Regions from separate parts of the Homo sapiens genome. Here region 1 is linked to region 2. Evidence: promoter capture Hi-C in 16 types of primary human blood cells and fetal thymus (Javierre and others, 2016). All regions are on one chromosome and are shown on one strand. The core of a region is centred on a gene start or on the middle of the fragment in contact, and the rest is flanking DNA. Distances in the headings are between cores, read along the strand shown.

Evidence for each region. Contacts are between HindIII fragments. The CHiCAGO score rates a contact against its expected background, and 5 or more counts as called.
Region 1: a fragment that was not itself captured here is called in contact with the fragment with the promoter of IQUB in region 2 in 1 of 17 cell types (total CD4 T cells); the score reaches 6.0 in total CD4 T cells.

Annotation. Positions count from the first base shown.
Region 1 is chr7:120,935,772-120,941,851 of GRCh38, forward strand. No RefSeq gene overlaps it. Among named protein-coding and RNA genes, the nearest start is that of ING3, 12 kb to the right of the region's middle. The HindIII fragment of the contact is 2,156 bases long and covers 673-2,828 here.
Region 2 is chr7:123,533,285-123,539,107 of GRCh38, forward strand. IQUB (IQ motif and ubiquitin domain containing) reads right to left here and starts at 1,311. Exons shown (of 13, transcript NM_178827.5): 1 at 1,208-1,311. It overlaps LOC124901740 (a long non-coding RNA gene), which reads left to right and starts at 1,247. Exons shown (of 2, transcript XR_007060507.1): 1 at 1,247-2,141; 2 at 2,321-2,975. It overlaps NDUFA5 (NADH:ubiquinone oxidoreductase subunit A5), which reads right to left. Exons shown (of 5, transcript NM_005000.5): 5 at 3,713-5,823. RefSeq lists silencers at 1,378-1,607, 1,628-1,777, 1,858-1,987 and an enhancer at 2,058-2,197. The HindIII fragment of the contact is 3,094 bases long and covers 674-3,767 here.

The sequences.
Region 1 (6,080 bases), core at 501-3,000, 2.6 Mb before region 2:
TTTCCCTACAGTGTGTTAACTTTTCTGCAGGGTGTGCATGCATAGATGTGATCATGTAGCAGAAGCAGGAGGTAGGAGACATGAAGCACAGGCTGGAGGTCAGAACTGCATGATACAAAGTGGAAGAAGCCCACTGTGTGACAAGGGTACAAGGCATCCCTCTGATTGTGCCTAAGTGATGTCAGTTAAATCTCAGGCAGTTTGGAAAAATAAACAGATGCCAGAAACTCTGATAGAATTCACCAAAGTTGTCTGATATACAAAGACTCACATCTGTAACTTCTTTATATCCACTCCTGGAAGCATTATTTTACCATATAGTGAGCCAGCGTAATGTCCAGTAAAACGCTGAAATGATCAAGGTCCTGAGGGATTAAACTATGGCATGGAGCGGAAGCAAGATAGTAAAGGTGCACTGCTGTCCCTTCTAGATGAAAGACACCTTTTTTCACTGTTCTGGCTTATTGGGATATAGAAAAAAAATAACATTTCATAGATAAATAGTTGCATACCAGGTCCCAGAGTATGGGCTGACTTGCTCCTATAAATAGACCACATCTGAAACAATAGTAGCAATTTGCATCACCATACAATTTAACTTTGAAAGTCTGCTTTCATTCTTGCAAAGATGTCTTATGCTCAATGGCAATGGAACAAATATCAGAACCACTAAGCTTCTCGTTATTCCATAATAAATAATTATGGAGCTATTAATATATGCCAGATACACTTCTCAGTAATTATGTACAACAGTTAATAAAATAAAAATCCCTGTCCTCATGGAGTTCACATTCTAGTGAGCAAAAGACAAAAATACAAATCAATAAGATATATGTCTAATCTTATATGTTGTATAAGATATAGCTATATATAAATAAGATCTGTATCTTATATGTATATTTTTCTATACATAAAATATATGAATATGTTTACCATATATAATCTTATTATCTTACAAATAAATTATATATATATATATAAAATCATGGACCACATAATGGCATTTTGGTCAATGACAGACCACATATGCGATGGTGGTCTCATAGTTACAATGGAGCTAAAAATTCCTATTGCTTAGTTATTTGTATTACAATTTCCTATAGTATGCAGTTCAGTAACATGCTATAGAAGCAATAGGCTACATACTGAACAGCCTGAGTGTGTAGTAGGCTATATCAACTATGTTTGCATAAGTACATTCTGATGTTCACACAATGACAAAATCGCCTAACAATTCATTTCTCAGTACGTCTCCTCATCATTAAGTGACTGTAATAAAGAAAAGAGCAGGAGTACTTGGTTGGGCAAGGAATTGGGGGGATGTTGAAATTTTAAATAGGGTTGCTAGAGAAAATCTTACTTAGAAGGACGTAATTTGACTGATATCAACAGAGTTGTAGTGGAGGAAGCAAGTCATGCAGACATATCTGGAGGAAACAGCTGACAGAAAGGTCCTTAGGTAGACACCTGCCTGGTGTGTTCAAGGAAGAGTCAGGAGGTTGTCATGGCTATAGTGCAGTGAATGAGGTGGAGTAGAAGAAAATGACAACAGAGAGATGACAGGAAGTCAGGTCATTTGGGGCCTTGTGGGCCATTGTAAGGACCGTGGCTTTTGCTGTGACTTAAACGGTAAACCATTGGAGGGTTGTGAGGAGAGGAGAAAGGTCATTTGACATACCTTTTAGGAGGATAACTATGTGCTACTCATGTAGAGAATGGATAGTAAAGAGGAAGGGGAAGAGGGAGGCAGGAAGGCCAGGTAGCACACTGCTACAATCATACAGACAGATTATGGTAGATTTGTCCAGTGTGGACTAGACAGATGTCTTCAAGGTTTAATGGTGGCACTGATCTCTCTGGTATTCCTGAAATGTGTTATCACTTGAGAATTGGATAGTGCTCGAAGGATAAAGTAATTTCCACTGGCCCTTTCCTAGTATTGTTTCAAAGCAGAGATTCTCCCAATTGCGCAGTATGTGAATAGCTATTTCAACATTACATTAAGGAACTGATGAATTATCAAAGACTGAGTTCAGAGGAGTAGTAGGTGTACTATGAGGCAGAGTTCCTTGAAAACTACATTACTCACATGAATCCTAGAACTACCTACATTCATCTGTGAACTGTAGAATTCTTTGTACTCAGGAAGCAACAATTAGTTAAGAGCAGTATCCAATAGTCTCAGAAAAGGTAGGTATATTTCACCTAAGTGTAAATTGTGTCTTTGGAGAAGGCTAGAAAAAAAAATTAATGGCATGGCCTTACAATGATGCAAGGTCCCTTTTCAAGTGCATCAATCTCCCCATCATTAAAGGGAATCTAGATGTATAAACTAATTCAGGTCTCAGATTCTAATATGGTGGTTCCAATTAAGATCCTGTTCTCCCCAGACCTCGAGTTTTTGGTTAGAGAGAATAAAGACAGCCTTAGTGTGTTGTCCATCTACTAATTTATATGAACCTGATTAACATTCAGCCATCAATCCCTGAACATTACTGAAGGTCAGATCATTCAGATTACCACTCAGGCCATGGAGATATTAAGAGGACTAAGCCCACTTCGCCCCGGTAGTTAAATGTGGCTATTTGGCCCATGCTATCTTGGATCCTAGCATCCCTGCTGCAATCAAAGAGTTCATACCAACTGCAGCATCTTCTACCAGCTTCCTTAGCCTACAAAGAATGTTGTTCCCCTAGAACATTTTTTAAAGTTACTGATGTGCTCAAAATACATTTCCCAGTGTCTTGATAAAGGGAAAGTCTTCAGACATACTCAGCAGATGTGATTAGGAGGAGGGTGAAAGAAGAGTATTTTATAAATTCATTCCAAGCTTCCTATCTCCCTAAGTCTTGGGTTCATCTCTCCAAGGAATTTTTGGCACCTCAATCCATTAAATACAGGCCACCGTTAAATACTTATTTAGTCAACTAGTCAAACAGAACTGCTTCCAACTGCTTAAGCCTACAAGAACCAGATTCACTGGCATATGCCCCCACGTGGAAAAATTCAGCCCAACCTAAACTTGTTTCTCTTGTCTTAGTTGAGCATCTTCACAATGCATTTACAATTCCATTCTCCCTATTATTTGCTGATATAAGTTAGAAAATCTTGCATATGTGGGTGCATTAACCTTTTCATCTTAAGTTTGACTTTGTATTTGGCCTTCTCTAAAAAAAAAAAAAAAAAAAAAAAAAAAAGAGGTGTTTTTATTTTTATGGCAGTGTAAGCTCAGAAATATTTGAAGATTTGGGGTCTCTGAGTTGTCCAAAACCTCTCACAGGACCACATTTCTGTTCTTCATGTCCTAAACTTTCATGGAAAAAAAAAGCATTGTGTTCACACAAGAGATATGGTAGGGCTGTGAATTTTTCTGATGCTACAATCCTACAACCGATAGGATCTAGTTTGAAGTTTACTGGTTGCAACACATTATTATTTTTTTTTGTCACAGTCAGACAAAAATTTGGGGAATGCATTGAGAAAATAGTTTAGTTTTCCACCGTTATTTTTTAACTTATCCAGCACAATGTTAAAAGCAAACACCTGATCTTTAATTCTTCACAGCCTTCACACTTGAGGACAACATAACTGATACCTAAATCAGAGAAGGCAAAGACTAGAAAAGAAAACTACCAGCCAATAATCAATAATCCTCATGAGCACAGACACAAAAAATTCTCAAAATATTGGCAATTCAAATCCATTAGTATATAAAAAGTATTGCTATAGTATAACCAAGTGGGGTTTACCCCCAGAAACGCAAAATTGGTTTAGTCATCAAAAATCAATCAATAAAATTTACCACCTAATCCGAATAAAGGAGAAAAATCATATGCGATATATGAAATTTAGATAAAGCATCTGACAAAATTCAACACCAATTACTTATTTTTTTTTCTTGGAGACAATGGAGTAGATGGCATGATTGAGAATTACAAGGTAGCTGAGGATGTAACAAAAGAAAAACAGAGAAATTACAAACTACAAAAACAGAGGGAAAATGAGTAATAATTAATGGTCCCAATATAAAACAAAGTAAAAAGTGGCATGATTTTGAGCATGTGATGGAGTGTCATAAAACGGTGTTGAAAACATTTTTCTTCAATTGCCCCACAGTTGTAATATTAAACCCCCAGAAGAAATGGTTCTTTGCCTTAGTATTAAAAAAATTATATAGTCATAGTGATATAAATGTTACTTATTTCTAACCTTTTAGAGTTATCCTATAGACATCCCAATAAAGACTCCAGGGTAATCTTGTTACAGAGCAGAACATATTAGCAAACATGACAATGTAAAAGGATAGTTAAAGGAGGTAGAAAATTGAATGGGAGGAGATAAAGATAGGACAAAAGTTAGGCGCTCTAATAACTTTATCTTCTGAGGAGGAGTCAAGAGAGCCTGTCTCAAAATCATGGAGTTAGTGTTGTGTTAGAGTTAGTAGTAGGATTATACATACATAATTAACATTAAAATTGTAACCAATAAAATAACAAATCATAGAAGAAGCAATGTATCTCATCTACAATTAACAAATTAAGAACGTTATAAACATATAATTTTGACTTCTGAAGGCAACTGTCAGAAGAATGTAAAACAGAAATAGTAATTACCTCCAGGGAACGGAAGGGAGATGAGGACGAATAGGGCAGGAGTCTGCTGCATTTTACCACAAGCTCTTTTACACTATTACTTTGTTACTACATTCATGTACTACTCTGAAAAAATATCTATCATCTGTCAATTCTTAATTTTATAATAAAATTGGGGGGACAATTAAATGACCACTTAGAATATAAGTATTTCAGATTACTGGTCTTTTACCATGATATTTGTTACTATAAATATAATATTTTTATAAACCAAGAGTAAGGGTAATAGTACTGAATTTTTTAAAATGGCCTATCAAACTACCTTTGACTTTTTGTTTTTTCTGATGAGTTTATAAGTTGGAAAAAAGACTAAGTATGCACTTTAAAAGTTCTTTAAGCACACAGAGTACTAATATAAGGAGAATAAATGCCTCTGACTTTCACAAAATCAACTACAAAAGAACATATGATTATAGTAAAGAGTATTGGGCTCAGCAGTACAAAAATAAAGATAATAAAATACTAGAACAGGCTACTAATAAAACTATGATCAACTATACATTAGTATTAGGTGATATATTTTACTTTCTCAATATTTATATACAATTGGTTTTTTTTCTTTCAAAAAAAACAGTAAAACATCGGAGATATCAGTACTCAGGATATACCTTAAGAAGGTAAAAAAGTCATGGTTCCTGTATCTGTGGAACTTGTATTTTAAAATCTTTAATACATCTTTGCATAAAATGTGTTTTTTCCTAAAACATACAAAATTATTTTGTTTTATTGTTTTGCATCTACTATTATTTTTGTTTTAGAAATTGGAGAAGTAGAAAAAGGGAAAAAAAATCTATGGAGGACAAATGATAATATAACACAAAAATTTGTTTATCACTGCCCTCTACTGTACAATTTTCTCAAACCAACATTGATTAAGGAAATGACAATGTGACTGATAGGCACGGAACACTAACCCAAGAATGTTGAGTATTCTTCAGCTATAATATCAATCTGCAGCAGAGTTTCTTAATCTCATTATTATTGACATTCTGGGTCCTGATAATTATTTGTTGCAGGTGGCTGTACTGTGTATTGTAAGACATTTTGGCAGCATCTCTGGCCTCTACTTACAAGATGCCAGTAGTACTTCCCCAAGTTATGACAACTAAAATGTCTCCAGACATTGCCAAATATCCACTGAAGGGCAAAATCACTCCTGGTTGAGAACCACTGATCTATAGGTTAGCAGTTCTATCTGTAATTCGGTTTCATTACAAATCAAAGCCCTAGGCATCAAACAATGTTATCTGTTCCCATGGATCCACTTATAAGCTATACCTGGATGGCACACAGAATTACTTGTTTACTCCATCAATTTAGTTCTGAAAACACACCCTCACATGTTGAACTAGATGACTAAGCTACTCAAATGATACCAAAACACTGATGGTGCTATCCTCTTAGTAACATCTTCTCCTGCCATCATCA
Region 2 (5,823 bases), core at 61-2,560:
AATTAGAATGGACAAGTCAAAGGGCATACAGATCTTAATTTTGTTAAATTCCATCAAACTGTTTTCTATTATAGCCCCAAGAAGTTCCCCTTGACTGTTTCCTTACATCCTCATATTGTTTTATGAGTCCTAATAATTAAATATCCCTTTGTTGTGTGTTGCCCTTATATTTCCCATTGTATGTTTGATGTTGTTTTTCTCTTACTATATAAAAGTTTTAGATTGTTAGGTAGTGACATTTATCAATCTTTTTGCTTATGAGAGTTTCCAAATTTCCTGACATGCTTCGAAACACCTTCTCACAATGAAACATAAATACATAAATTCATCCATAAATGCATAAATGAGACAGATCTGTAAATATTGATAGAAAACAACTGGACACACAGTCTTAAGTGTAAAAGCCAATCACAGAAGAGTATGCACAATGTTACAGGTGTAACTACATATTTGCGTATGTCTAAAACACCTGTGGAAGGTGGCCTGGAGATGGGGAGAAATGGGTAGATGGAGGATTTTCACTCTTCATTCTTTTTACTATTCGAACTATTTTTTTATGTATTATCTATTCAAATGAAAATGTTTAAATCTTATTGTTTAAAAAGCAACCTCTATCATGTTTGCATACAAAAAAGTCTCCCTTTTCACCTACATTTCATTCCCTACCATTTAAAGCTTAACACATTTAGAATGTAGTATAATTAGTGAGGCAGGGATCCAGTATTGCCTTCTACCAAATAGATCTGTTGAATTTTTAGGTTTGTTAAGAGGCAAAGACCAAGGGTGGAGAGGAAGGAGTGAGAGTGCCAGGTGAGGAAAGTCTAAAATCTCTCGACTTAATATGAGAATGGTGGCCACGGAAGGCTAAGAGTCTCTAGTGCCAGGTGTGGGTTATACACACATCTTCTATGCAATTACCGTGACAAGCACCCAGGGTGTGAGGTGAGGTGTACCTCCTAGCTTGATGCTGCTGGTTCAAGTCCCAAATCAGAGAGGGGAAGCCAAAAAAGGAGCCGAGAAAGATGAGATGCTTCGCACGGTTTTTAAAGTAAAGTCGGAACATTCCTGACCGACTAGGCAGCCCCAGGCGCTCAGGTGGGAATCACTGCCCAGCACACAGAACCCAGAGTCCAGCGCGGCTGTCACCGGCTCTAGGCTGGATCTAAGCGTCGGACCAGGAGGCCGCAGTCAAAATCTGTTCTCCTACCTGTGTACGAAACCAAACTATTCTCGTCGAAGTGCTTTCCCAGGCTCCTAAGACGCAGCTTCCATACTCGCCGCGTTCTCAGCTGTTGGTCGTATCCTAGCAACGGCCCTGGCACCACCTCTTCCTGCCGGAGCACGGCAGGGGTGGGAAGGAGAGGAGCCAGAGGCGGGTGGGGGGGAGGAGCCAGAAGAGGGCAGCGGGGAGGGGCCGGGAAGGAGGAGCGCGGCAGGGTAGGGGGAGGAGCCAAAGACTGGGGGCGGGGCCGGGAAGGAGGAGGGCGGCAGAAGAGAAGGGGATGAGCCAGAGGCGGGGAGGTGGGGCCGGGAAGGAGGAGTGCGGCAGGAGAGAAGAGGAGTAGCCAGAGGCGGAGGGGCGGTGTCGGGAAGGAGGAGCGCGGCAGGAAATAAGGGAAGGAGCTAGAGGCGGGCTGGGGGCCGGGGTCTGGAAGGAGGATCGCGGTAGGGAAGAAGAGGAGCCAGAGGAGGGGGATGGGGGCTGCAAAGGAGGAACGCGATAGGGAAAAGGGGGAGGAGCCAGAGGCGAGGGGGCGGGGAGAAGAAACATGGCAGGAGAAAGGGGAGGAGCCAGAGGCGAAGAGACAGGAAGAGGGACGCGTCAGGGAGAAGGGGAGGAGTCAGAGGCGAGCGGGCGTGGAGGAGGGAAGCGGCAGGGAGAAGGGGCGGGGCCAGAGGCGAAGGGGCGGGGAGGAGGGACGCGGCAGGGAGAAGGGGAGGAGCCAGAGGCGGAGGCTGTTACCAACTGGCTACCTAGATCCAAGTGAATCAGGACACTAACTTCTCTCCAAGATCTTTTACACTTGTGAAACGGCACAGCTCTCTAAACCAAACACTGACAGCAGTTTAATTTTACAGATATAAAAAAAATCCGAGTCAGAGAAATCATCACGATGAAGTCAGAGGCGAGAAACTGTCAGGTGCCTACTTGCTTTTGTTAAACTAACAACTTGGCTCTCAGCTTCCTGGCAGCCAAAGAGAAAAGGGAGATAGTAGCTATCAAATAATTCTGCTTAGAAGAACTTTTGTTAATCACTAAATTAGTTAATAAACTAAATTTTGTCTAACAACAAATTCTTTTTTTTTTTTTTTTTTCTAGTGTATACAGAGTCTTGCTCTGTCGCCCAGGTTGAAGTGCAGTGGTTCGATCTCGGCTCAATGCAACCTCTACCTCCCTGGCTCCCGCGATTCTCCTGCCTCAGCCTCCTGAGTAGCTGAGATTACAGGCGCCCGCCACCACCCCCGGCTAATTTTGGTATTTTTAGTAGAGATGGGGTTTCACCATGTTGGCCAGGCTGATCTGGAACTCCTAGCCTCAAGCAATCCGCCTTCAAAAGTGTTGGGGATTACAGGAGTGAGCCACCGCGCCCGGCCTATCAATGAATAAGAAAACTTTTAAAGAACCACAGGATAGTATTGGAGGTCAAGTCAAGTATGTTCCTCTTGGAAATTTAGTAACAAACTACATGTTGCTATCTCATAATAGCAGCTAACATTTATGAAGTATTCATTGTCATGAGGCACCGTACATAGATTTCTAATTTAATCCTTACAACGATTTTATTAGGGAGAAACTGCTATTAGACCCATTTTGTAAATGAGAAAACTAAGGCACACAAAGTTTAATGAGGGAACCAGGATTAAACCTAAGCAATCTAACTCCAGGTCCCAGATTTTTTAACCATTACAGTACTGTTTAATTTGATTTGATATGTTAAAAGGATTAATAAAATTAATACAGGTCCATTCCCTTATTCATAAATGTTCATTGTCTTCATTTATTTCTTTATACTGTTCTGCTGAAATTGCACTCTCATCTCCCCAATAACTTTGTAATATCCAATGCCATTTTTTTCAGTCATCCCATTTTAAAATATATTTTTACTAGAATAGTGAAATATATATTCAGATAAAATTGGCTTTGTTTTAATAATGATCAGTAAAAGTAAATTCATTTTAATCATTTCCACACATTCATGAAAAGTAAAGGGGAAAAATGGGCATAGAGGTAACCACTAGAATTAGGCTTTCTTGGATGGGTAGACCAGGTGTGGAGGTGTGCAGATAAGATTTTACAAACACTCATACACTCCCATCTCCAAAATCATAATTTATCTTACATTCTGCTACTAATAAACATTCCACTGGTTTTAAACATTCACTTTGCTGGGTCTCCTCTTTAAAATTTGTCATTCACTGTTCTCAATGTTAGAGACGGTATGCAAACAGTAGGTTTAGGAATAGAGTCAGGAGATGGGGGAAGAAAAACTGGTAGGAGAGAACTTAAGTGTCTCACAGTGTTAAATGTGACTTGATAGCCACTATTCATTTTTTTTTGTAGTTTGCTGTGAGGATGACTTTATACAATTTAATCTTAAATAGGAACCTAACTTAGTTAGGCTTCCTTGGGTAGTCTGTGGAGCATGGAAAAGTTATTAGCATGTCAAAATCCTGTCCACGCACACATACACGCACATACACACAAATGTAGTTTGGTTACATAATAAATTTATATTCAAACTTAATGAAAACAACCAATAGGAAAAAGCTTCTCAATTCCAAAAGTGAAAGAGTAATTTTACAATACCATTTTCCATTTTCCTTTTCATGATAAATCTATGCATTTTCTCAGGATTTATTCCACCAAACGACTTCGTATTTCTCATGAAACATCTACCTTTATTCATCTCAGCATTTATTTATGTAATAAACATTTCTTTTGATGTGCTTTTATTTTTACAAAGATGCCACCTAGTGGCTTGATAAAATCAAGCATTTCAAAGTATCTCCTGTTGTTACTACAGGTTAAAATGAATAATGAATATTTTTAATATTAAAATAATTTAGAAAACTAAGGACCTGAAAATTTTTGTTTTGGAAATTATTTAGATTAAATTTGGATCATAATACCACTTTGTGAACTTGTTAAGAGAATGGAAATATAGGTCTATTGTCCCTTTTCTGAAACCTTTTAAGACAGATGTGTTTGATATTCACAATTTTTCAGATTTTTGAAAGGAAATATGGGCATATACTTTACATTATGTAACACATTAAGAGGGTCTGAGGAAGCAGTTTAGAATCAAATATATTGATACATCTGTGGCAAAATATATTCATATTCACATTGAAGTGCGATAAATACCACAAATAGCCTCATGTAATTCAGGTGGGGTTTGTTGCCAAATGAGTTATGAAAAAACTTTGTTTTCAGAGATTTTTGAAATTAGGAATTTAGATAAGGGACTTTGGACCTGTTTTACTCTGGTGAAAAATAATTCACCCTCCAGTTATAGAGAGATTAAAATGCCAATATTTTGTAAAAAAAAAAAAATAGTTATCTTTAGAAAACCTAATAGATTCACCTAAAAAAAAATTGAAGATCATGAGAAATACCAAAATAGAAATCTTTGCAATGCTTTTCATTTAATTATATACAGATGCCAATCATAAATTACATTTAAGTGTACCACAAAAAATTAGCTGCTAATGTAAACCTAAAGACCAATTTGAAAATTATTAGTGATGCATGGCAAGTTCAATTCATAAATTTTGTGGCACAGTCAAAAAAAAATTTAACCTTGGTTGTTTCTTTTTTTTTATTCCTATGTGTAATTTACCATGTTCCAATTCCCCACCACCACTATGGTCATGGAAATATATGTTGATGGTGCCACACTCAGCCTGGATTCCTTGTGGGTCTATGAGCACTCCTTGCCAACCCTCCTTAGACATGCAGTATGAATAAAAAATACACTTAAGACACTGGGATTTAAGGATAACCCATGCTAAGTCACTACATGACTCACTATTTTACTTCACGATCTAGAATACTGACTCATCTCTAGTCTCTCAAATGAATTCTTCCTGTCCCCATCAATCATTCAAACCCCTTATCACATTCCCACTGTGATTTCCTGTGAATTTTGTCTAAAATAAAACGTCGACCTCCTCTAAACACAACTGGTAGCCTCTCATTTACTTTTCTCTAAAACAATTGGCATTACTATTGTTGTAGCATAGGCTACAATCTCACTGAACACTTAGTTTTTGTTTTTGTTTTTAGTAGAGACGGGGTTTCACCATATTGGCCAGGCTGGCCTCGAACTTTTGACCTCAAGTGATCCACCCACCTCGGCCTCCCAAAGTAGTGGGATTATAGGTGTGAGCCACCACGCCTCCCTACTGAACACTTAGTTTTAATGGGAAGACTGCACTCAGCAAATCCAAAATACTAGTGATATGTTCAGCAATTTGGTACTTAATCCCATACCCCACAATACACTTGTGTAGGGTGTTAGACTTCTGTATGTTTACATAATCATAGAGGATGGGAGGAAAAAGAAAAAGCTGCTATTAGCCTACATGTGGGAATTTTCCTATATATTGTCATCTCCCTTTTAAAAAAGATACATTCATAAACATTGTTATTGGCTTAATTAGCTTCGCTCCTCTGAATGTGATTAGAAAATTGACAATAAAATATAAGCTCTCTTTTCTTCCATCCCCCAATTCTGAGGGAAAAGGAGGGGGAGGGGAGAATGAGGGAGAGTGAAAGGATACAATAAAACTTGAGGCCTGATTGCACATGATGACTACTAC